Linked DNA regions of Homo sapiens: regions 1, 2, 3, 4, 5 and 7 are each linked to region 6. The links are contacts of gene promoters, found by promoter capture Hi-C in blood cells and fetal thymus (Javierre and others, 2016). All regions are on one chromosome and are shown on one strand. Each heading gives the region's core, a stretch centred on a gene start or on the middle of the fragment in contact. The rest is flanking DNA. Distances are from core to core; before and after follow the strand shown.

Region 1 (3,015 bases), core at 35-2,534, 440 kb before region 6:
TCTCATGCCTGTAATCCCAACACTTTGAGAAGCCAGGGCAGGCAGATCACCTGAGGTCAGGAGTTCGAGACCAGCTTGGCCAACAGTGAAACCCCGTCTCTACTAAAAATACAAAAATTAGCTGGGCATGGTAGCATGTGCCTGTAATCCCAGCTACTCGGGAGCCTGAGGTGGGAGAATCACTTGAACCTGGGAGGCGGAGGTTGCAGTGAGCAGATATCGTGCCACCACACTCCAGGTTGGGAGACAGAGCAAGACTCCATCTCAAAAAAAAAAAAAAGAGAAATTATAAGGACCGTGCATGTTAAGAACATGACTCATTGTTGAACAGTGACATTTAAGAGAAGTTAAAGATTCAAATGAAAGCAAATGTCTTCTCTTATATTTTATTTGTATTTTCTGGTTATTTTTCACTGAATGTTTGACATGATTGTAAAGGTTTGATACAACTGTAAATTTCTTTTCTTTCCTTTTTTTTTTTTCTTTGAGATGGAGTCTTGTTCTTGTTGCCCAGGCTGGAGTGCAATGGTGCAATCTCAGTTCACTGCAACCTCTGCCTCTCAGGTTCAAGCGATTCTCCTGCCTCAGCCTCCCAAATAGCTGGGATTACAGGCACCCACCACCATGCTCAACTAATTTTTTGTATTTTTTAGTAAAGACGGGGTTTCACCTTGTTGGCCAGGCTGGTCTCAAACTCCTGACCTCAGGTGATCCACCCGCCTCAGCCTTCCAAAGTGTTGGGATTACAGGCCTGAGCCACCGTGCCTGGCCAAATTTCTTTTCAAAAAACTAAAAATGTTTTAAGTTATTAAACTAAGCGCATAGAAAATAGTGGCATTTAAGAACTTTAAAATGTGAATCTTGAAGTTTTAAGTTTACATTTTGCATGGATCTTGTAGTTTTGTGCTGTTATGCTCATATCTTTTTAAAAATGTTTCATTTATTTCTGATGTTTTTCATATTTGTTTTACAGGAAATGCCACAATCATTTTCTGCAATCACATTAAGTAACACAGAGATGAATAATATTAAGACTAATGCACAGAGAAACAAACTTCCAATAGAGGAACTTGGTAAAGTTTCTAAACATAAAATTGCCACTAAAAGAACACCACATAAAGAAGATGAGGCAATGAGCTGTTCTGAAAATTGTTCGAGTGCCCAGGGCGACTCACTTCAGGATGAGTCTCAAGGGTCTCATTCTGAGTCCAGCTCTAATCCCTCCAATCCTGAAACTTTGCATGCAAAGGCAACTGATTCAGTTCTACAAGGTTCTGAAGGAAACAAGGTCAAGAGGACATCCTGCATGTATGGGGCAAACTGCTATAGGTAAAATGAAATTACAGTAACATTTAATTCCATTATTTTGATAGCGTGTAGCTATGTAGATACATGCTACAGTATATTAAAAACTTAATAAAACCCACTGGCCTAAAGGTTAGGGGCTTTATCGTGTTTCTACTATTTGTACTTCCTCAGTATATTTTCTAGAAAATCCTTTTAAGGCTTTTAAGATACAGTGGGAGAATTAAATGTTTTATATATAGACATGCTGACTAATGTGAGGATCTGAATACTGGGGAATCCAGACATGAAGACTGAATCCCCCAGATCTAAATACCTGTTATTTAGTCTTTTCTTAAATATTAGAGAGATGGCTTCCTACAGAGTTGTTGTCTACAATATAACTATAATTTTAAGTTGTATTTAGGTGTCTTTTCTTTATATTTTTGTAATGGTGCTTTGAATCATCATGGTACCCTGTAAAACAACTGAATATAATAATCCTGGATTGATGGGTTGCTCCTATACTTGCTTCATTTATTTACACTGCCCTATATACTCTAATTTCTTATTTTGAGAATTCAAATTATAATCTCTTAGTTTTAGGCTATACTTTCATCCATAGTGTTTATAGTAACATGTTTATAATTACATAACCCTATTTCAGAAAGATTTCTTGCCATTCCAACTTGCCAAACCAAATATCCTAGCAATCCTTTCCAGTAGTTTGTCTTCTGTGTCAATAAGACACTAGTCAGCATGTATACATATAAAACATTCAGTTCCCCCCACTGTATCTTAAAAGCCTATAGCAGGATTTTCTAGAAGATAGATATCTTTATTGCAATAGTATATTTTAATATATTCTGTTAATTTCACATTCATATTCTCTTTAAAAGGTATTGCCATTTTAGCACTTGAATAACTCATATTTTAAAATTTGAATAGTTCTGATTTATGCTTTTTGAAACATTTTTGTATATATGCAATGGCTTTAGTTCCACATCTGGACCATAATGTAAAAACTTGCAGAATGGAAGTATATATACCTTCTGTTACCTTGGATTGTATTAGTTTGCCAGGGCTGCCATAACAAAATACCAGATTGGGTGCTTAAAAAACAGAAATGTATTTTCCCATAGTTCTGGAGGCTGGAAGCCCTAGATCATGGTGTCAGCAAGTTTGTTTTCTCCTGAGACCTCTTTTCTTGGCTTGCAGACTGCCACTTTCTCACTGTGTCTTCACATAGCCTGTTCTCTGTACATGTACCTTCCTGGTCTCTTTTCCACATCTTGTAAGGACACCAGTTATATTAGGTTGGGCCCCACCCTTATGACCTCGTTTAACCTTAATCATCTTTTTAAAGCCCCTATCTCCAAATTAGTCACACTGGAAATTAGGGCTTCAACATATGAATTTTGGGAGGTGGGGAACAATGCACTTCATAACACAATTTAAAAGAGAAAATTCATAATGGTCATCTCAATAGAGAAAAGTCATATGATAAAATTCAACATCCCATTTATGAAAAAAATTCTTAATTATATAAGAATAGAAAAGACTTCTTCAGTTTAATCAAGAATATCTACAGAAACCAACAGCTAACTTCATACTTAATGGTGAAAGATTAGAGTTTCTCCCATGATGTTGGGAACTAACCAGTATGTCTGCTATCACCACTCCTATTCAACATTGCAGTAGAGATCATAGCCAGTACACTAAGGCAAAAAA
Region 2 (3,171 bases), core at 220-2,719, 500 kb before region 6:
TGGAAAACTCAGTAAGTTCATTGTAAATTGGAATCGGAAACGATTAATATAAATAAGGATGATTTTGAACTTTCTTAATTGGGCATGTTTTTCTGAGACAAGCTTCACAAACCTTGATGGCCACACAAACATAAAAGTTTATAATCTGACTGTGTAAAATAGTCTTGGTAGTAAAACAGTTTGACAATGAGAATGGTTTTGTATTTTTATGGTGGTAGGAAAACACAACAGAGAAACCTGTCACAGAGAACAAAGGACAATGAAATTTAATCTTTCTTGTTCCCTTTGCTTTCATGTGAGTCATCAGAGAACCCCAGGTCTTTGTTTACTAGATTTTGATTCTGCTCCATGATTGGCATCAGTTAGAAGGTTTTACAGCAGGATTAATCTTCAGAGAACTTGAGTTAAAACAGCCAATCCAAAAGATTACATATTGTGTGATTCCATTTATATAACATCATTGAAATTGCGAAATTGCAAAATTTCAAAAATGGAGAACAGATTAGTGGTTGCCAAAGGTTAAAAAATTAGGCAGCAGGGCAGAAGGGAATGGATATGGCTATAAAATAGCAACATGAGGGATATTTGTGGTGATAGAAATGTGCTTTGTCTGGACTGTGTCAGTATCAATATCTTAGGTTGATATATTGTACTATAGTTTTGTAAGACGTTACCATTAGGGGAAACTGGATAAATGGTACAAGAGATATTTCTATATTATATCTTTCAACTACATGTGAATCTACCATTATCTTAAGAAATTTAATTTAAAAGGGTTTTACAGTACGACATGTCAAGCACTGTTAGGCCAAAGTATTTGCTTTATGGGTTTTAATTAAAGCTGTTACACTCTTAAATGAAATCTACTATTTCTGATTTCAGATTTTTCTTATTTTGTTTTGACAGCAGGGATTATATGACACATTTCTTTATGATCTATTTTCCTCCTAGGAAACAAGATAGCAAAAGATATCTAGTGATACTTTCTCAATGTAGATGTAATTAAATTGACTGCTTTGATTAAAAGGAGAAGAGTCCTCAGTTGGGGGAACAGGGAAGGTCATAGGCTTCAGTATAGACTCTTCAGGTGGCATCAGTTCACCACTTCTAAGAATGTTGTAAATGTTCTACAAAGTTTACACAAAGTAACCATCCCCTGACCTGGCAGCTCTATACTTTTAACTGCTTGTTGCAGAATCCTGGCTGTCCTGGAATGCTGTTCCTACCTGCTCCAACATAGGTTTCTTCCCTTACGTTTCTTTTATTTCTAGATTTGCCCTTCCCTCATTTTATTATTTAGCCTACAACCAGTGCCTAGCACACAGTAGGCCTTTAACACGTGATTTCTTCCTTCCATTTCGGCATCTCAGCCTCTCATTCACTCTACCCTCAAAAAGAGCCTAATTGTGACTTAGATATGAAAAAGGGTTATCATTGAGTTTTGAAGTGAATTTAAATATAGTAAAGATGCAGTCCTACCAACTGCTAAATCTTGAGTAGCATTCATAATGAATTAAGTTTTAACATTTTTCCTGTTTTGTTGATTGATAATTCGCTAAATTCAGGAAATAGCTGATAAATATATACTATGGTTGGATGGGAGGGAGTATAGGAGAAATAAAGGTGAATGAGAAACAAGTCTTTGCTCTCAAGAAACTTATAGTTTTGTAGGGTTAAGAGACAAATAAACAAGTATTAGTAACTAAATAAGGCTACAACCTCACATGGGGACTGGCGCCAGGCTGACACTTGGAGTAAGCGAAGTGGGAGGGAAGAAGAAAAACAACACAGGGACAGTGATAAATGACAACAGTTCTGCCTCAGTGTTGGGAAGGCCACAAGGAGAGGGTCTCTATGCAATCCCTGCTACTTTCCCCTATTCCCAGTTGGTAACAGTGTCATATTGTTTTTTTAAGAATAGTAAGAAATTTGAATTTTTAGATATAATCACTGATTTTTAAAAGGTCACATTTTTATTAAAAGTTTTGGTTAAATACCATGAGTCTGTTGATGAAGAGTTAAATTCTATAAAATATTTCAAGAGATTTATTCTGAGCCAAATATGAGTGACCATGGCCCGTGACACAGCCCTCAGGAGGTCCTGAGAGCATGTTCCCAAGATGGTCAGGGTACAGCTTGGTTTTTATATATTTTAGGGAGGCATGAGACATCAATCAAATACATTTAAGAAATACATTGGTTTGGTTCAGAAAGGCAGGACAACCCAAAGCAGGGGCTTCCAGGCTATAGGTAAATTTAAACATTTTCTGGTTGACAATTAGTTGAGTTTATCTCAAGACCTAAGATCAAAGGAAATGTTCAGGTTAAGATAAAGGATTGTGGAGACGAAGTTTTATTTTGCAGAGCTCTCAGATAGCGGACTTCAGAGATAGCAGGTTGTAAAATGTTTCTTATGAGACCTGAAAGAGTGCCTGGCTCTTAATTGATTATCTCCTGGATCTGGAAAGGAAGGAAGGAAAACAAAGGGGAAAGGGAATTCTCTATAGAATGTGGGTTTTTCCCACAAGAGACTTTGCAGGACAGTTCCAAGGTATGGCAAAGAAATATATTTTAGGGTAAAACATTTTGATTTTCTTCCTTGTTATGCCTGAGTCAGACTGGAAAGTAAGTCACGTTATACAGGGTTAAATAAAACTCATCTGATGAGAATTTATGGTTTGTAGGGCATGACTCCCCAGACCCCTTAGAAAGGAATTTGGGCAAGATAAAAAAAAATAATAATCAGAGCTTAGTCCTCAAGCTAGACAGAATGATGTCACAGGGTACAGAGAGGTATAAGAAGGAACCTGAAGTTAAGAGGTGGGATCAGGGAAAGAAAGCTTCATGAACTTGGTAGCATGTTGAGTTTGACTGTGGTGTGTTGGGACAGTTAGAATTTTGGTAGGTGGAGTGGGTGGTGTAAGGAAGGGCTTGCGTGGTTTAAGGCTCTAAGATATGGTGTGTTGGATAATTGGGTAGGTGTTGACCAGGCTTGTGGGATGATCACATTATGTCAATGATCCCGTTTAACTTTTACAAACATTGTTTTTTAATATATTAGTTTTTAAAATAGACTTTATTTTATGGAGGAGTTTTAGGTTCACAGCAAAACTGAGTGGAAAGTACAGAGAGTTCCCATATACTCTCTGCCCTCTTACATGTACAGCTTCC
Region 3 (3,127 bases), core at 628-3,127, 380 kb after region 6:
TCTTTTTGCAAAGCTAATATCCTTTTAATTCTTGTATTTCAGAATTATGACACCTCTACTTAATTTGTCAAGACATTAATATTAACTTTTTCATCAAAACTGGAATGCTAAGGTTTTATAAATTGGCCTTATATAGGAAAAAAATCTATTAGTTGAAGACTACATAAATGTCCTAGAGACAAAAATGCACCTTTCTTCAAGGCCAGGACATAACAGAACTTAGAACTATGGACACAATAGCCAGAGAACATCACAAGTATACTTATAAAAACTGCTATTTCATCTATCCTCTTAAAATGCACATATAAAGGCAGACTTGATAATTATCAGAAATGTGCATTCAAATGTGCTATTTATCCTGAGCTGATCATTATACATTGTACACATGTATTGAAATATACACCACATAAACATATAATTATATATCTATTAAAAATAAAAGCCAAAAAAAGTATATTCGAAGTTTTCCACCATCTGTGATTATTTGATGTTTTAGTGATGAAAACAAAGTAACTTTTCCCATTCATATTTAACAGCAAAGATGCCAAACTGAAAAATAAATGTAAGATGACATCCAAGAAAAAGTAACATTATAGAAAAATAACATATTAGTGTTTGCCAGGGGCTGGGAATGAGACAAGGGTTGATGACAGAGGGCAGGTTGAGGGACCTTATTGAGTGATGAAATTGTTCTGTATCTTGATTATGGTGGTACTTATGCAATTTCGCATCTGACAAAATTGGTGAAACTACATGAAAAAGAGTAAATATTACTGTATGTTAAAAAACAGAGACCAGGCACAGTGGCTCATGCTTTTAATCCCAGCACTTTGGGAGGCCGAGGTGGGCAGATCACTTGAGGTCAGGAGTTCAAGACCAGCCTGGCCAACATGGTGAAACCTCGTCTCTACTAAAAACACAAAAAATTAGCTGAGAGTGGTAGAGTACACCTGTAGTCTCAGCTATTCCGGAGGCTGAGGTGGGAGAATCGCTTGAACCTGGGAGGTGGAGGTTGCAGTGAGGTGAGATTGTGCCATTGCACTCCAGCCTGGGTGACAGAGCATGACTTTGTCTCAAAAACAAAACAAAAAAGTGAATTTAAAAACACATAAAAAGAGAGCTCAGCATTTTAAAAAAATAAATGCAACCAGGTGTGGTGGCTCAGGCCTGTAATCCCAGCACTTTGGGAGGCCGAGGTGGGCGGATCATGAGGTCAGGAGTTTGAGACCAGCCTGAGCAACAGCCTGAAACCCCGTCTCTACTAAAAATAGAAAAATTTGCTGGGTGTGGTGGCACGTGCCTGTAATCCCAGCTACTCAGGAGGCTGAGGCAAGACACTCGCTTGAACCCGGGAGGCCGAGGTTGCAGTGAGCCGAGATCACGCCACTGCACTACAGCCTGAGCAACAGAGCGAGACTTCGTCTCAAAAAAAAAAAAAAAAAAAAAAAAACAACTACTTTTGCTTATAAAATGTCCTAATAGGCTTGAGTTTCACTGTGTTTTTTCTCCAAATATTGATAATTTCATTCTTCAAATAACAAAGTATATTTAGTTAAAATATGTAAAAAAAATTTGAGGCTGGGTGCAGCGGCTCACACCTGTAATCCCAGCACTTTGGGAGGCCGAGGTGGGCGGATCACCTGAGGTCAGGAGTTCGAGATTAGCCCGGCCAAAATGGCGAAACCCCGTCTCTACTAAAAATACAAAAGTTAGCCGGGTGTGGTGGTGTGCACTGGTAGTCCCAGCTACTCTGGAGGCTGAGGCATGAGACTCGCTTGAACCCGGGAGGCAGAGGTTGCAGTGAGCCAAGATCATGTCACTGCACTCCAGCCTGGGCAACAGAACAAGACTGTTTCAAAAAATAAATAAATAAGGTAAAAAAAATTTGAGATATCAATGTCTGTTTAAATGAAAAGAACACTTCTGGGCTGGGCACAGTGGCTCACACCTGTGATCTCAGCACTTTGGGAGGCTGAGGCAGGTGGATCACTTGACTCCAGGAGTTCAAGAACAGCCTGGGCAATATAGCAAGACTCCATTTGTACAAAAAATTTAAAGTTAGCTGGGAGCCAGGCACAGTGGCTCATTCCTGTAATCCCTGTAATTTAGGAGGTTGAGGTGGGAGGATCCCTTAAGCCCAAGAGTTTGAGACCAGCCTGGCCAACATAGCAAGACTTCCTTTTTACAAATAAAAAAATTGGCTGGGGGTGGTGGCACATGCCTGTGGTCCCAGCTACTCAAGAGGCTGAGGTGGGAGAATCACTTGAGCCTAGGCAGCCAAGGCTGAAGTGAGCCATGACGAAACCACTGCACTCCAGCCTGGCTGAGAGAGCAAAACCCTGGCTAAAAATAAGAATTAGCTGGGTATGATGGCACACGCTTGTAGTACTAGCTATTTGAGAGGCTGAGGCAAGAGGATCCACCTGAGCCCAAGAGTTCGAAATTGCAGTGAGGTATGACCATACCACTGCACTGCACTCCAGCCTGGGCAACAGAGCAAGACCCTGTCTCCCCCTGCCGCTCTATAAAAAAGTTACATCGAAGTAAATAAATAAGAAAAACAAAAAATAAACTTTACACATAAACAATATAAAAGAACAATCACTACAAATTCAAATAAAGCCAATCAAGATAGCAAATGTAAATCCAACAATATGTCATGTATAAAAAATAAAGACCACTTAAACATATTTCAGTTAAAAGTTAGCCTAAATGATTCAAATAACTACCACTTAGTCAATCTATAATAACCTAGCACACAATGCTCTTTTCCTAATCTAAGCATACATCCTACATGATTTTAAAACAAAGGAAAAAATAATTTACAATTTCAACTATTTTCTCAAATTTCAGAAATTTTAATGAAATTATTAAAAGCACTTTCTAAATGCCAAAAGCAGACACGCAAAATATACTCCGCAAATTAGAAAAATGTCAAAATATGCTTCCCCACAAAATAAGCACATTTTTAGAGGCCCAGCACATTCATTCACTCCAAGAACAAAAGAATTAGTAAAGAATAAACAAAAGAGGATAAGATCCTCCCCATCCATGCAGAGTGCATTTCCCACCTCTTTCTCCCTGTGATCCCCACCGTGTGAATTTTGATCCAATCTGAGTCCTAGCT
Region 4 (3,166 bases), core at 267-2,766, 390 kb before region 6:
TTCTTCGTAGTAATGTAATAGTTCATGGTAGCTGCTTTTAACGATACAGTTTTAATGCAACTTTCATAATCATCCTGAAGACACTTTTGAGTATAACTATTGTATAAATAAATGTATAGCTTAATTGACTGAAGTGTAATGAAAATGAAAGTGTAATTGGACTGTGTTTAGATCTGTGTTTTCCAAAACAGAGGGAAAACCGGTAACATTAGGCTGTCAGTGGTCTCAAGAGCACCATTAACAAAGCTTGATTTTTTAAATTAATTGCTGTTCTATACAGTGGATAAGAGCCAATTCTCCCTGTCATGGTGTTCCTGGAACTGAAACTATATCCCAGCCTCCTCTGTCATGGTAAAAATTATCATATATACATTTCTCACCTATGTGCCTAATTTTAAAAGCAAATATTTTCTGGCTAAACTTTTGAGGGGGGATGGGTTTTCTAGGACCCTGGGAAACTGGAGACCTGAAGAGTTTTGGGGGACACTTGAACACTGACTTTGGTGTTTTCCCCTGGTTGAGGATGGCCCTATTGATACTGAGTTTCTAGAACTAGAGGATCCTAAACATTCATTGTAATGAAAGCAGATAGATTGTGAGCATAATTACTCCAGAATGTTGATGTAAAGCTGAGAGTAAATGGGTAGTTTCTTACAACTAATTGTTCAGTGTCACCAGCACACCTCACTGAGGGGGAAACTGTCCACCAGCACGCTGCATCCAGCCCTGCTCTGTGAGACCACCTCATTCCCATTCAGTCTCTTTGTTGGCCAGGAGTCCATAATGGTGTGTGCATGTGGGGGAGGGGGATCTTTTCCTGCCAATCTACAAACCTAGCCTACAAAGCTTCACCTCTACAATATGTACTGAAAGTAAAGTGATAAGGAATAATTATGATTGAGATTATTATTGGCCACCCTAATATAATGTACATAATAAACTTTATCATCATAAACAACCACATTTATACTCTGTTGTGCCCAAGATACTGTCTTAGGTGTCAGCAATTCAAAGAATAACATAGAGTCCCTATTTTCAATGTGCTTACTCTCTATTCTGGACAATAGGATATTTATTCATTCAGTGACAGTGACTACTAAATACCATGAAAGATACAAAAAAGAAAAAGAAATGGTATCTACAGTAAAAGATTTTACAAAGGCAATGAGGCAAGCATTCAAATAACATAGTGGATAGAATGGGACCAGTCAGAGAAGGAGAAGCTAGAGTGTAACAGAAATACCCCTCTGGCTGTATACTGAAGTATATACAGTCTCAGTCATGAGAAAATCTTGGTGTGATTGAGTTGCAGGATGAACTAACAGATTTTTTTATGGAACAAAATTTTTACTTGAAAGAATGACTGGCAGACATATTATGATTATTCAAACTTCAGTATTTGGCAGATGTTTTATCAAACATGAACTAAATGAGCCCTGTTTTCAAGGAAAACAACCAACAGTATTTGCTGTAATGCTGAAATTTGAGCTTTTAAGCAAAAATCAGAATTTTGGAAGAACTTGGATTCATCACCATTAGCTTGATAGCTTTTCAAAACTCTAAAAACTATTCTGATGATATTGTAGGTGATATGATATAATAAAATGTATCAATATTTGGAAGAGCTGCAAAACTTAGTAAGCCAACATTTTCCACATAACCAGTGTATGATGTTATAAAACCAGGCATGGGTAAGAGATCCAGTCAAAGTGTAAGATGAAGCAATGGACTTAATGTAACAGAGTCTGTTAAGTTCATTAATATGGTTTCAGATTCCATATTTCAACTAATCTTCCAGAAACTGCAATTTGTCTATTTTTGTGACATCAAGAAGAATATCCACCATTACCTGAAAAGCCTATTAAAATACTCCTTCCTTTTCAACTACATATCTGTGTAAGGCCTGGTTTGCTCCATGTACTTTAAGCAAAACAACATAGGAGAGCAGATACAGGAATCTACCTGTCTTCTAGAGAAGACAGACATTAAAGAGATTTGCAAAAATGTAAAACAATGCCATTCATCTGACTAAATTCTTTAAAATATATAATTATTTTTTATAAAATACATGTATCAGTGTGTAATGGGTTTACTCTTCTTTTTAAGTGAATTACTAAATATTTTAAAAATTTCTCAATTATAATCTCCAGTATGGTAACTGTCTACAAATACGACCCTCATAAACAAAAGCTTTTTGGGTTTCTCAGTAATTTTTAAGAGTGAAAAGACTCCTGAGGCTGAAAATTTTGAGAACCACTCCAGTAGGTCACTGTGCCATTCAGTTAGACTAGTTATGCTAGGATAACCCCAAAATCTCAGTGTCTTAACACAAGGAACATTTTCTTATGCCAAGATTTTCTGTGTTGGGTGACCCTCTAGGGCACTGTCTTCCATGTAGCAACTCAGCATTCCAGCATTTTACAGTCTCTGCCTTCTTGCAGTTGTATCATCTGGATCGTGAGACCTTCTTAATCATGACTGCAAGGGAATACAGAAAGTAGAGGGTTATAGTGTAATTAAAGGCTTCAGGCTGAAGTGACATCACTCCTGTTTGCAGCTCATTGGCCAGAAGTAATTACATGGCTTTAACCACTAGAAGGGGCTTGGGAAGTACAGTCTTATGGGTGTCCAGAAAAGATGAGAAACAGAGTGAACACTAGTAATGTCTACCACAGTCACCAAAGGAGTAAGTGGTAAAAGAGAGTTGAGGACAAGATATTTAGTGTCATAATTTAAGGGATAGGAAGATAGATAAAAAGATTCTTCAGAGGAATTAGAAGAAGAGGAATGTTAGGAACTTTCTGTGTCACGGGAGCTGAAAGTAGAATGAATATTAAGAAGGAAGAAGTAGTTAATATTGTCAGTTGCTATAGAATGGTTACACACCTAAGAACTGAGATTAGATTTAGCTTCCTACTTCACTGAGATAATTGAAGCTATTCAATGAGAACTTTTACAAACTCTCACCTGCATCTACCCACCTACCAGCTATTCTCAAATTCTTTATCTTCTCCCCCGGTATTATAGATAAATTGTTTATTATTTTATTTAAAATCATTTCCCTAGATCCAGGCATCTCTTACGTGCTTAAGGACATTACACTGGTAATTCCTCCCCCTCTCCCATCTCATCAGTTTTTTCCTATGTACTGATTCATTCCCATCAC
Region 5 (3,007 bases), core at 57-2,556, 490 kb before region 6:
GTTGCTTAAACTCTCTGTACTTCCATTTTCTCACCTATGAAGTGAAGTATAATAATAGTATCTTCACAGATTTTGTGAAGACTGAAAAAGATGATACATGACAAGTCTAGAATGGTGCTTTGGTGTTGATAATTGATTGTTATTACAGTTGATGTATTAATAAATAATAAAAATGTGTTGGATATTCACTCTGTATAAGGAGCAGTGATAGGCTGTTAAATAAAGCAGATCATCAGATCTTTAGGATAATCTGTTTGTCACTTGCTCCCCACCCCTCTCCGTATATCAATCGTGACATTAAAATGTTTTAATGATAATTTATTAAACCTTTATGCTTCCCATTGAGAAAGTGCAAATGGTTATTTTATTGTGTATTCACTATTTAGGGTTTTACTTTAAAAGGAACACTATAAATGTCTGAGTGATGTTAATTTCAAAGATTGTTTATAGCATTCTTTTTGTATTCTATAAAGACACATAGCTTGTAATGAAATTACACTGTTGTGGAGTTATGTGTCCACTAGAGGTCACATTATACTTTTATATTACTTAAAATGTCTTTTATCTTCGTAGTGTCAGTGAAGCTTACTTCAAAGAAAGACAGAGATAGGAAAAGTTCATGTATTGCTTCCTGAAAAAATACAGTTTAAAAAAGGAAAGAAAGAAATTTAAGATGGACTGTTAAAGGAACCAGCTTTATATGCCATAGTTTTATATTTGATAGCTTATTACTCTGTTGGTTAGAAAATTGGTTCGTAGTATGGAAGTAACAATGAGATTTTGGTACCCAAGTCAGAAATAGGAACTGCTTACTCTCAGCCGCATTTTTTGAAATTACTTTTGAATGATTACATGTAGGTACAGTCATGTATAAATGTGTTCTACATTTATTATCTTTTTTTTTTTTTTTTTTTGAGGCAGGGTCTCACCGTGTCCCCCAGGCTGGCATGCAGTGGCACGATCATGGCTCATTGCAACCTTGACCTCCTGGGTTCAAGCAATCTTCATACCTCAGCCTCCCAAGTATTAATATTTGGGACTATAGGCACATGCCCTCTGTCCAGCTAATTTTTTACTTTATGTAGAGATGGGGGTCTCACTGTGTTGCCCAGGCTAGTCTTGAATTCCTGGGCTCAAGGAGTCTTCCCACTTCAGCCTCCCAAAGTGCTGGGATTGCAGCCACCACACCCTGCCTATTACCTATTTTTATTAAAAGGAGTGTGGATTTGGAGTGCTGCCTACTTGGAGAGTGACCTACCCAAGTTACCTAAATTCTCTGGACTTTCAATTTCTATGTAAAGTGTTAATAATAGCTATGGCAATGTTATGTTGAATCACAACATTTAAGTGAAAGTTCTGTGCAAATGATGCAATGAGTCATCAGATAACTGCTGTTGTTTTTAGCCTACTAAGGTACAATCTGATATACCTAATGCTAAATGACGAGTTATTGGGTACAGCACACCAGCATGGCACATGTATACATATGTAACTAACCTGCACATTGTGCACATGTACCCTAAAACTTAAAGTATAATAATAAAAAAAAAGGTACAATCTGGGAAAAAGAAAGGAATCTTTAAATTTTTAGCCTCTTTTTTTCTGAAACAATAGATTATTAGTTTGTACTTACTTCTTGGATAGCCATTGTGGCTAACAATAGATTGTGAAAAATTCATTCATGTGATACTCATTCCGATGCTTGATATTACTGTCTATATGTTACAGCCTTAAGTGTGGAACAGCTATCTGGTTAAAAAAATGAGTACTGACTCCTGGCAGTTTCACATTTTTTGTGGAACTAATAGGTTTAATTGAGTTTATGTGTTGGTATGGTCTATTTTTTACTGATAATTTTGGTCCTTATGCGGATAATGCCAACATTCAAGTGCTGAATATCAAGGTTACCAAGAGATGGGTCAGGTAGTTATGGTGTTATTGAAGTTGGTGCTTAACATGTTTTCATTATCTATCAATCAACCACAAATAAAAAAGGCAATCTTAACTATTGTATTTACAGTGAAAAGGGAAAGCTTTGATTGGCACTGTCAGCATTTAACATGCAAACAATTTTTGAACTTTGGTATGTGGAAATGATTGTGAGCCTAAGTAGAACACTGTTGGCTCAAAACAGGAAGCAAATAGATATTTTTAAAAAATGCTAATTTATTTCTTACTGAAAATGTTTGGTTTTCACTATTCCCCTTCTTGCCTTCCTGAACTCTTAACTGCTGCTGATGGCCCCAGAGTTTGCATGCAGTTCTGCCTGATCTGGGTCTCTTTGACCCCAAAGCCTATAGTCAGACCCTTTTACACTTACCAGATCCTCGAGCATGGGATCTCTTCCTTTTAAAACCTTTATCATCATGACATACTATATGTTTCTTGTATTTGAAATGTTTTCTGGTAAGTACATATTATATACAGACTTTTCGTATTTTATGAATTTTCTTGGTAAGAATCCCCAGTAGATGTCTGTCATGAATGGAAACTATCATGCAAGGTTTTGGGATCCGTTAGATTCTAGGCTTGAGGCTCTGTTGTTGACTCTTCCATGACTTTGGGCAGGTTTTTTTAATCTCATTATTTGTTAAATGAGGACAATCATTTCAATATACAGTTGTTGAATGAATGATATATTTCATATCTAGTCTACTGATTTCAGAAACATCGCCAAGGGTTTCGTTTGCCTTTTTGTTTTGTTGCTTTTTAAGGAGGTGGCTATTCTTAATCTTTTAATTTTTTTACTGTATAGATAACAGACAAGAGAGTATCCAGAAGACATGCCATTCTTGAGGTGGCAGGTGGTCAGCTGCGAATCAAACCGGTAAATATGTTATTAATGATTCATTTTAACTTTCATCTCTTACCCTTTCAGTTCCCAAGCAGAGGTGCCTATTTTCTAAGGTTATGGGAATAGGGAATTAATGTCAGAATATACCCTTCTCATTGCCAGAAAATAATTAGGAGATAAAGATCTAAACTGTGAGGAAAACTACATATTTTC
Region 6 (2,862 bases), core at 224-2,723:
TACCAACAGTTTTGAAGAGATGTTGATAGCGAATCAAGCTTTATAACCATGTGATCCCATCTTATGGTTTCAATCCATGCACAGGAGGAAAATTGTGGGCACGAAGTTTCCAAAGGGAAAATTTATAGATTGGTAGTTAATGAAATACAGTTTTCCTCCTTGGCAAATTTAATTTACTAGCTTCACTGTATAGGAAAAAGCAGGAAAAAAATTAAAACCAACTCACCTCCAAACCTGTTTTGAGCTTTTACTTGTCTGCCCAATTGATAGTTTCTACTCTCTGCTTTTGATGAAAATATTTTTTATTATTTTAATGTAACTTCTGAAAACTAAATTATCTAGAAGCAAATAAAAAGATATTGCTTTTATAGTTCCCAGAAGGAAAAAACAAACACTAGGAAAGTTCTATCTATCAGATGGGGGAGATGTGATGGAGGCAGTGATATTTGAGCTGAGCCTTGAACAATGAACAGGAGTCTACCAAGCGAGAGGCTAGCGGGTGGCCCTCCAAGATAAAACAACAGCATGTACAAAGGCATGGAGACATACACATCTTGACTTTTCCAGGAATGGTGGGAACGCTGGTGGAGCTAGAATGTAGGTACATAGCATAAAGTGGCAGACGGGAAGCCTTTGGAAATCTTATTACATAGGACCCTGGATGCCATTCCAATGACTTTGAATTTTCTGTAGGCTGCCAGCGAAATTTCCAAGCGTGATAGAGTCATGTCTATCTATGCACTTCAGAAAGACAACCTCAGGGTTAATGAAGAAAATGCATTGGAATATAAGAAACTGGTGACCAGAGTGATCAATTGCATGACTGTTGTGAAAGTCCAGGTGAGGGGAGCTGTGGGCAAGGTCAGAGTTGAGAGGCATTTCAGAGATAAAATGACAGTAACTAAGTAGATGTCAGACTGAGAAGAAAGGGCTGTACCAGATATATGGTGCTATCATTAAGTGAGCTCAACATTGCAGAAAAGGGGTAGGTTTGGTGGGAGTTGCTCACAAAACATGTTTAGTCTAAGCAAAACCATTGCCATGGGCTCAGATAAAAGTTAAGAAGTGGAAACCATTCCTACATTCCTATAGGAGCTGCTATCTGGAAGGCCTAGTATACACGTGGCTTTTCAGCTGTGATTTTGTTTGATTTTAGGGATTATTCTTTTTCTGAATCTGAGCAATGTTAGCGTGTAAAATACTCACGCCCACAGCTTTGACTGGGTGAGAAGTTATCATAAATCATATTGAGTTTGTTGTGATACCTTCAGCTTCAACAAGTGATGAGTCAGGTCAACTCCATGTGAAAGTTCCTTGCTAAGCATGCAGATATTCTGAAAGGTTTCCTGGTACACTGGCTCATGGCACAGATAGGAGAAATTGAGGAAGGTAAGTCTTTGACCCCACCTGATAACACCTAGTTTGAGTCAACCTGGTTAAGTACAAATATGAGAAGGCTTCTCATTCAGGTCCATGCTTGCCTACTCCTCTGTCCACTGCTTTCGTGAAGACAAGATGAAGTTCACAGTGAGTAGATTTTTCCTTTTGAATTTACCACCAAATGATTGGAGACTGTCAATATTCTGAGATTTAGGAGGTCTGCTTCTTATGGCCCCATCATGGAAAATTTGTTTTAAAAAAATTCTCTCTTCAAACACATGGACACAGAGAGGGGAACAACACACACTAGGTCCTGTTGGGGGGTGGAGAGTGAGGGGAGGGAACTTAGAGGACAGGTCAATAGGGGCAGCAAACCACCATGGCACACATATACCTATGTAACAAACCTGCACGTTCTGCACATGTATCCCTTTTTTTTAGAAGAAGAAATAATGAAAAAAAATCTTTTTTCTATTTATATAATCATGGCATTTATAAGCATCTCTATAGAGAAGGATAATTGTGCTGAGATTAGACAGCTGTCTGAGCACCTCACACTGACCTATTTTTAACAAAATGACTTTCCGCATCACCTGATTCCGGTCTCCATGCAGGGTAAGCAGTTCCTAAGCCCTAGAAAGTGCCGATCATCCCTCATTCTTGAATTCCTCCTTTTATTTACCAAAATTCCTGAGCATGTTCAGGAAAGATGAAAAGCTTATTATCAAAATAAGTGGCTGAGATAGACTTCTTGTCACATTTGTTACAGTAAAATGGGTCTCCAAGAAAGAAAGATTTGCCTTGGGCTCTAGCATGGCCATTTATTTAAGAAAGCATCTGAAACATGAAGCTACCACAGCATCTCTCCTGTGGTTCCAGACAGAAGCCTGAGAGTCTAGGAGGAGGTGGACCGAGAAACCCTGCCAAAGTAACTAGTAGTGCCGGGTTTCTCACAACACGATGCAAAGGGGCTAGAATCAGATGACTATTTTCATGTTTCAACATACTACACACTGGAAAACGTTACGGCAGACTCTACTTTATAATGGGGCTGCAAATGTAAAATGACTACCTAGAACTAGGTCCTCTTAATAGCAGCAAAGTTTAAAAGGGTCAGAGGGAGCTCCAGACACAGGTTAGATTTGATTTCTCTCCTAGTTCTGCTGTGAACAAGAGGTATAAGTTTGGCCAACTCACTTAACCCCTGAAGCTCAGTTACCTTATCTGTAAAATGATTGCATTGTACTAGGTGTTCTCTAAAATTTCTTCTACCTCTGACTTTTTAGGAGACTAATTTTTAACTCCTTTTTAAGCTATTGGGAGAAAAATTTAATTTTTTTTCAAAAGTTACCTTGAATCTCTAGAGCAGTTCTCAAAACTATTTTGTCCCAGGCAAAGGAAATGAGACTAGGTACCCAGAATGAGGCACCCTGCATAAAGCTCTGTGCTCTGAAAACCAATGTCAGGGACCCTGTGATAAAT
Region 7 (3,131 bases), core at 20-2,519, 470 kb before region 6:
GATGAATTCTATATTCATTTTAAAAATTGAATTCATAATTTAAGTATTTCCCATAAGGATCTTCACTAATGAATTCTATTAAACTTACAAGGAAGAAATAATGCCAATATTATTCTTTTTTCTCAAAAAATAAAAGAAGATATACTTCCCAACTCATTTTATGAAGCTTCTGTAATTTAGAAACTAAAATCAGACAAGATTTTACAAAAAACCCTCAAAACTACAGACCAATATTCCTCATAATAAAGTATTTACAAATCAAATCCAGCAATATGTAAAAAGGATAATACTCTATTACCAAGTGGGGCTTGTCCAAGGGATACAAGGTTAGTTTATCGTATAAAAATCGAAGCAATTCACCATAACAGACTAAAGAACTATCATTTTAATAGATGCTCAAAAATAATTTTGACAAAATTCAACACCTCTTCATGATTTTTAAAAGTTTTGAGAAAACAAGAAAAAGAAGGAAACTTTTTTCCTACAAAAAACCTATTAGTGAAATGTTGAAAGTTCTTCCCCTAAGATTGGGAATACAACAAAGATAAAATATATCAGATTTGAAAGGAAGAAGTAAAACTGTGTTTATTTGCAGATGACATGATTTGTATTTAGAAAATCCTTAGTAATCTACCAAAAAGAAAAGCAAGCCACAAAAGTGTCTATTATATGATTACATTTATATTAAGTTCTGTAATAAGTAAACTAATCTGTTAAATAGAAATGTAATCAATGGTTGTTTCCAAGGGGATTGACTAGTAAGAAGCTACAAAGGAGCTTTTTGTTTGGCTTTGTTTCAGCTTTTAAACAAATATGGACATATTCTGTGTCTTGTTAAGGGTGCAGATTATGTGGGTGTACGCATTTGTCAAAACTAATCAAATTTCACACTTCAGATATGTGCATTTCATATATAAATTATATCTAAAAATGCTTAAATGTAAGTGGAAAAAAATGTCAGGAAGTTGCTTTTTAGTTAAATGAAATTCATTAATCATTGCTTACTACTTTAAAGTACATGTCTTTTTCTCTTATCATACATGTATGAAGCGTGCTATTTAAACTAGCTGTTGAAATGAGACATGTAAAGAACTGATTTTTTTGTTACAATAAACTTTCATAATAGAATTACATACTTTTTTCAAAAATTAGGAAAATGTGCATCCTTATGAAACACAATATGGTCATTACCTGATAACTTATTTAAGCTATTATATGTCTATTTAAATTTCATTTATATTGATTCAAATTAGCTTATTCCCTTAGTGTGAAAGACCAGTGTCTTTAGGGCAAGTGTCACACTTTAAATTTATCAGGTTATGGGATTAGTGAATTTTGAATTTTTTCGTATTGATGAAACTGAAAATAAACCCACTTTCACAGCACTGTACTTTTCTCAGGCTATTTAAACCTTGGGTTCTGTCATTTGCTAGAAGGGCTCACAGAACTCAGGAACAGTTTACTTACTAGATTACGGATTTATTACAAGTGCTATATTACAGGATACAAATTAACAGCCAGATGAGAAGATACATAGGGTGAGGTCTGGAAGGATCCCCAGCACAGGAGCTTCTGTTCCAGTGGAGTGTTGGGGTACACCACTCTCCCAGCACATGGACATGTTCTTGTTCACCAACCTGGAAGTCCTCTGAACTTTGTCTTTTTGGGTTTTTATGGAGGCTTCATTACAAAGGCATGATTGAGTAAATCATTGACCAGTATGATTAAGTCAATCTCCAGCCCCTTTTCCCTCCCTGGTGGTGAGGCTGGGAGTTCCTACCCTCTAATCATGATTGGTTTTCCTAACAACCAGCCCTTCATCTTTAGAGGCTTTCCAAAAGTCACCTCATTAACATACATTCAGGTGTGGTTGAAAGGGGTATATTGTGAATAACAAAAGACGCTCCTTTCACCTGTTTCAGAGCTCTAGCCAGGAACCAGAAGTGAAGACCAAAATATGTATTTCTTACTATATCATACCATCACAGGCACATTCTTGTGGTTTCTGCCATTAGCTAGGTCCTGTAGCTTCTTAGTGAATATTTAGTTTCCTATTGAAGCAAGGACAGTACTTCTGTAGTCAGGTAATGATGAGTTAACCCTAGTTATTAGATTAGAAGCCATGAGGGGAGGTGGGGGCAGATCTTGAATTGCAGTATCATCATGAGAGATGTCTACCCGGGGGAGGCAGCTGCCTGATTTCCAGAGAGGGAGAGTCCACTGTCTGCTAGCAAGGGGAAGTGGACTATGTATTAGATAGGAAGCATTGAAATACACTTCTAGACGTTTCTTGATATCGTTGGGGTTTTCCTGTTTTTGAACTAGCTCTGTTTTGCAGGGTCAACCACATAAAAACACTGCTTACTGTTGTACAAGCTTTACATGTATGAACTTTTTATTCTCCATAATAATCTCTATGAGGACTAGGTATTGTTAATATCCCTATATGACAGATGAAGAAATTGGGACACAGAAGGTTTAAGACTTGCCCAAGGTCACAGCTTAATACATGGCAGAGGTGGGATCCAAACTCAAGCCAGCTGTTTCCAGAGTTGATGCTCTTACTAACTACCCTCTGCTGTATGAGAATGTTTACTATAGCACTCATTTGAATTGTGAAAACACCTGCAGAAAGGCTAAATAAATTTGGTGTAGTCCTATAACTATATGAAAGAGAATGAACTAAGAGAGAGCTCAGGTTAAAACATGGATAAATCTCCCTACCATAATGTTGAGGGAAAAAACCCAAAAAGGTTATAAACATATAAAACATACATAATTTCTATAAAATAATGGATGCATATATACAAATAATGAAAGTATAAAGACATGCATAGGAATAATAAATATCAAATTCAGGCTAATGTTTACTTTTGGAGAAGGAATGGGAGGGAAGGAGCAAGATTGAGGCTGGGCATGGAGAGGGCTTGAATTGTATTTGTAATTAATCTGGAGCAAATATGAGAAAATGTTTCTATCGGGGTGGTAGATACACAAGTATTTATATTCATAGATATGTAGATAGACTACATATATTCTCTATATATTTTTGCATGTTGAAATATTTAAGACATTAAAAAAGAATAGAAAAAAGCTTATATGCTTTGTAGAAGTTGTTAGGACTCCTTTGC

The links. The method cuts DNA at HindIII sites, captures the fragments that hold promoters and counts their contacts. A CHiCAGO score of 5 or more calls a contact.
Region 1: a contact is called between a fragment that was not itself captured here and the fragment with the promoter of GKN1 in region 6, in 4 of 17 cell types (naive B cells, non-activated CD4 T cells, total CD4 T cells and 1 more). The highest score is 6.0, in naive B cells.
Region 2: a contact is called between a fragment that was not itself captured here and the fragment with the promoter of GKN1 in region 6, in 1 of 17 cell types (activated CD4 T cells). The highest score is 5.5, in activated CD4 T cells.
Region 3: a fragment that was not itself captured here is called in contact with the fragment with the promoter of GKN1 in region 6 in 1 of 17 cell types (M1 macrophages); the score reaches 6.4 in M1 macrophages.
Region 4: a contact is called between a fragment that was not itself captured here and the fragment with the promoter of GKN1 in region 6, in 4 of 17 cell types (activated CD4 T cells, naive CD8 T cells, total CD4 T cells and 1 more). The highest score is 8.1, in activated CD4 T cells.
Region 5: a contact is called between a fragment that was not itself captured here and the fragment with the promoter of GKN1 in region 6, in 12 of 17 cell types (non-activated CD4 T cells, activated CD4 T cells, total CD4 T cells and 9 more). The highest score is 9.6, in non-activated CD4 T cells.
Region 7: a fragment that was not itself captured here is called in contact with the fragment with the promoter of GKN1 in region 6 in 5 of 17 cell types (total CD4 T cells, naive CD4 T cells, M2 macrophages and 2 more); the score reaches 6.3 in total CD4 T cells.

Annotation. Positions count from the first base shown.
Region 1 is chr2:68,536,899-68,539,913 of GRCh38, forward strand. It overlaps APLF (aprataxin and PNKP like factor), which reads left to right. Exons shown (of 10, transcript NM_173545.3): 7 at 974-1,329. Among named protein-coding and RNA genes, the nearest start is that of APLF, 71 kb to the left of the region's middle. The HindIII fragment of the contact is 8,077 bases long and covers 1-3,015 here.
Region 2 is chr2:68,469,785-68,472,955 of GRCh38, forward strand. All of the region lies in intron 1 of APLF (aprataxin and PNKP like factor), which reads left to right. Among named protein-coding and RNA genes, the nearest start is that of APLF, 3.8 kb to the left of the region's middle. The HindIII fragment of the contact is 2,738 bases long and covers 101-2,838 here.
Region 3 is chr2:69,351,188-69,354,314 of GRCh38, forward strand. GFPT1 (glutamine--fructose-6-phosphate transaminase 1) reads right to left here. Exons shown (of 20, transcript NM_001244710.2): 9 at 3,072-3,125. Among named protein-coding and RNA genes, the nearest start is that of GFPT1, 34 kb to the right of the region's middle. The HindIII fragment of the contact is 7,303 bases long and covers 1-3,127 here.
Region 4 is chr2:68,580,035-68,583,200 of GRCh38, forward strand. APLF (aprataxin and PNKP like factor) reads left to right here. Exons shown (of 10, transcript NM_173545.3): 10 at 1-128. Among named protein-coding and RNA genes, the nearest start is that of PROKR1, 62 kb to the right of the region's middle. The HindIII fragment of the contact is 1,344 bases long and covers 845-2,188 here.
Region 5 is chr2:68,487,435-68,490,441 of GRCh38, forward strand. APLF (aprataxin and PNKP like factor) reads left to right here. Exons shown (of 10, transcript NM_173545.3): 2 at 2,756-2,827. Among named protein-coding and RNA genes, the nearest start is that of APLF, 21 kb to the left of the region's middle. The HindIII fragment of the contact is 1,449 bases long and covers 583-2,031 here.
Region 6 is chr2:68,973,163-68,976,024 of GRCh38, forward strand. GKN1 (gastrokine 1) reads left to right here and starts at 1,474. Exons shown (of 6, transcript NM_019617.4): 1 at 1,474-1,527. The coding sequence starts at 1,516. The HindIII fragment of the contact is 2,059 bases long and covers 37-2,095 here.
Region 7 is chr2:68,504,144-68,507,274 of GRCh38, forward strand. All of the region lies in intron 3 of APLF (aprataxin and PNKP like factor), which reads left to right. Among named protein-coding and RNA genes, the nearest start is that of APLF, 38 kb to the left of the region's middle. The HindIII fragment of the contact is 2,210 bases long and covers 165-2,374 here.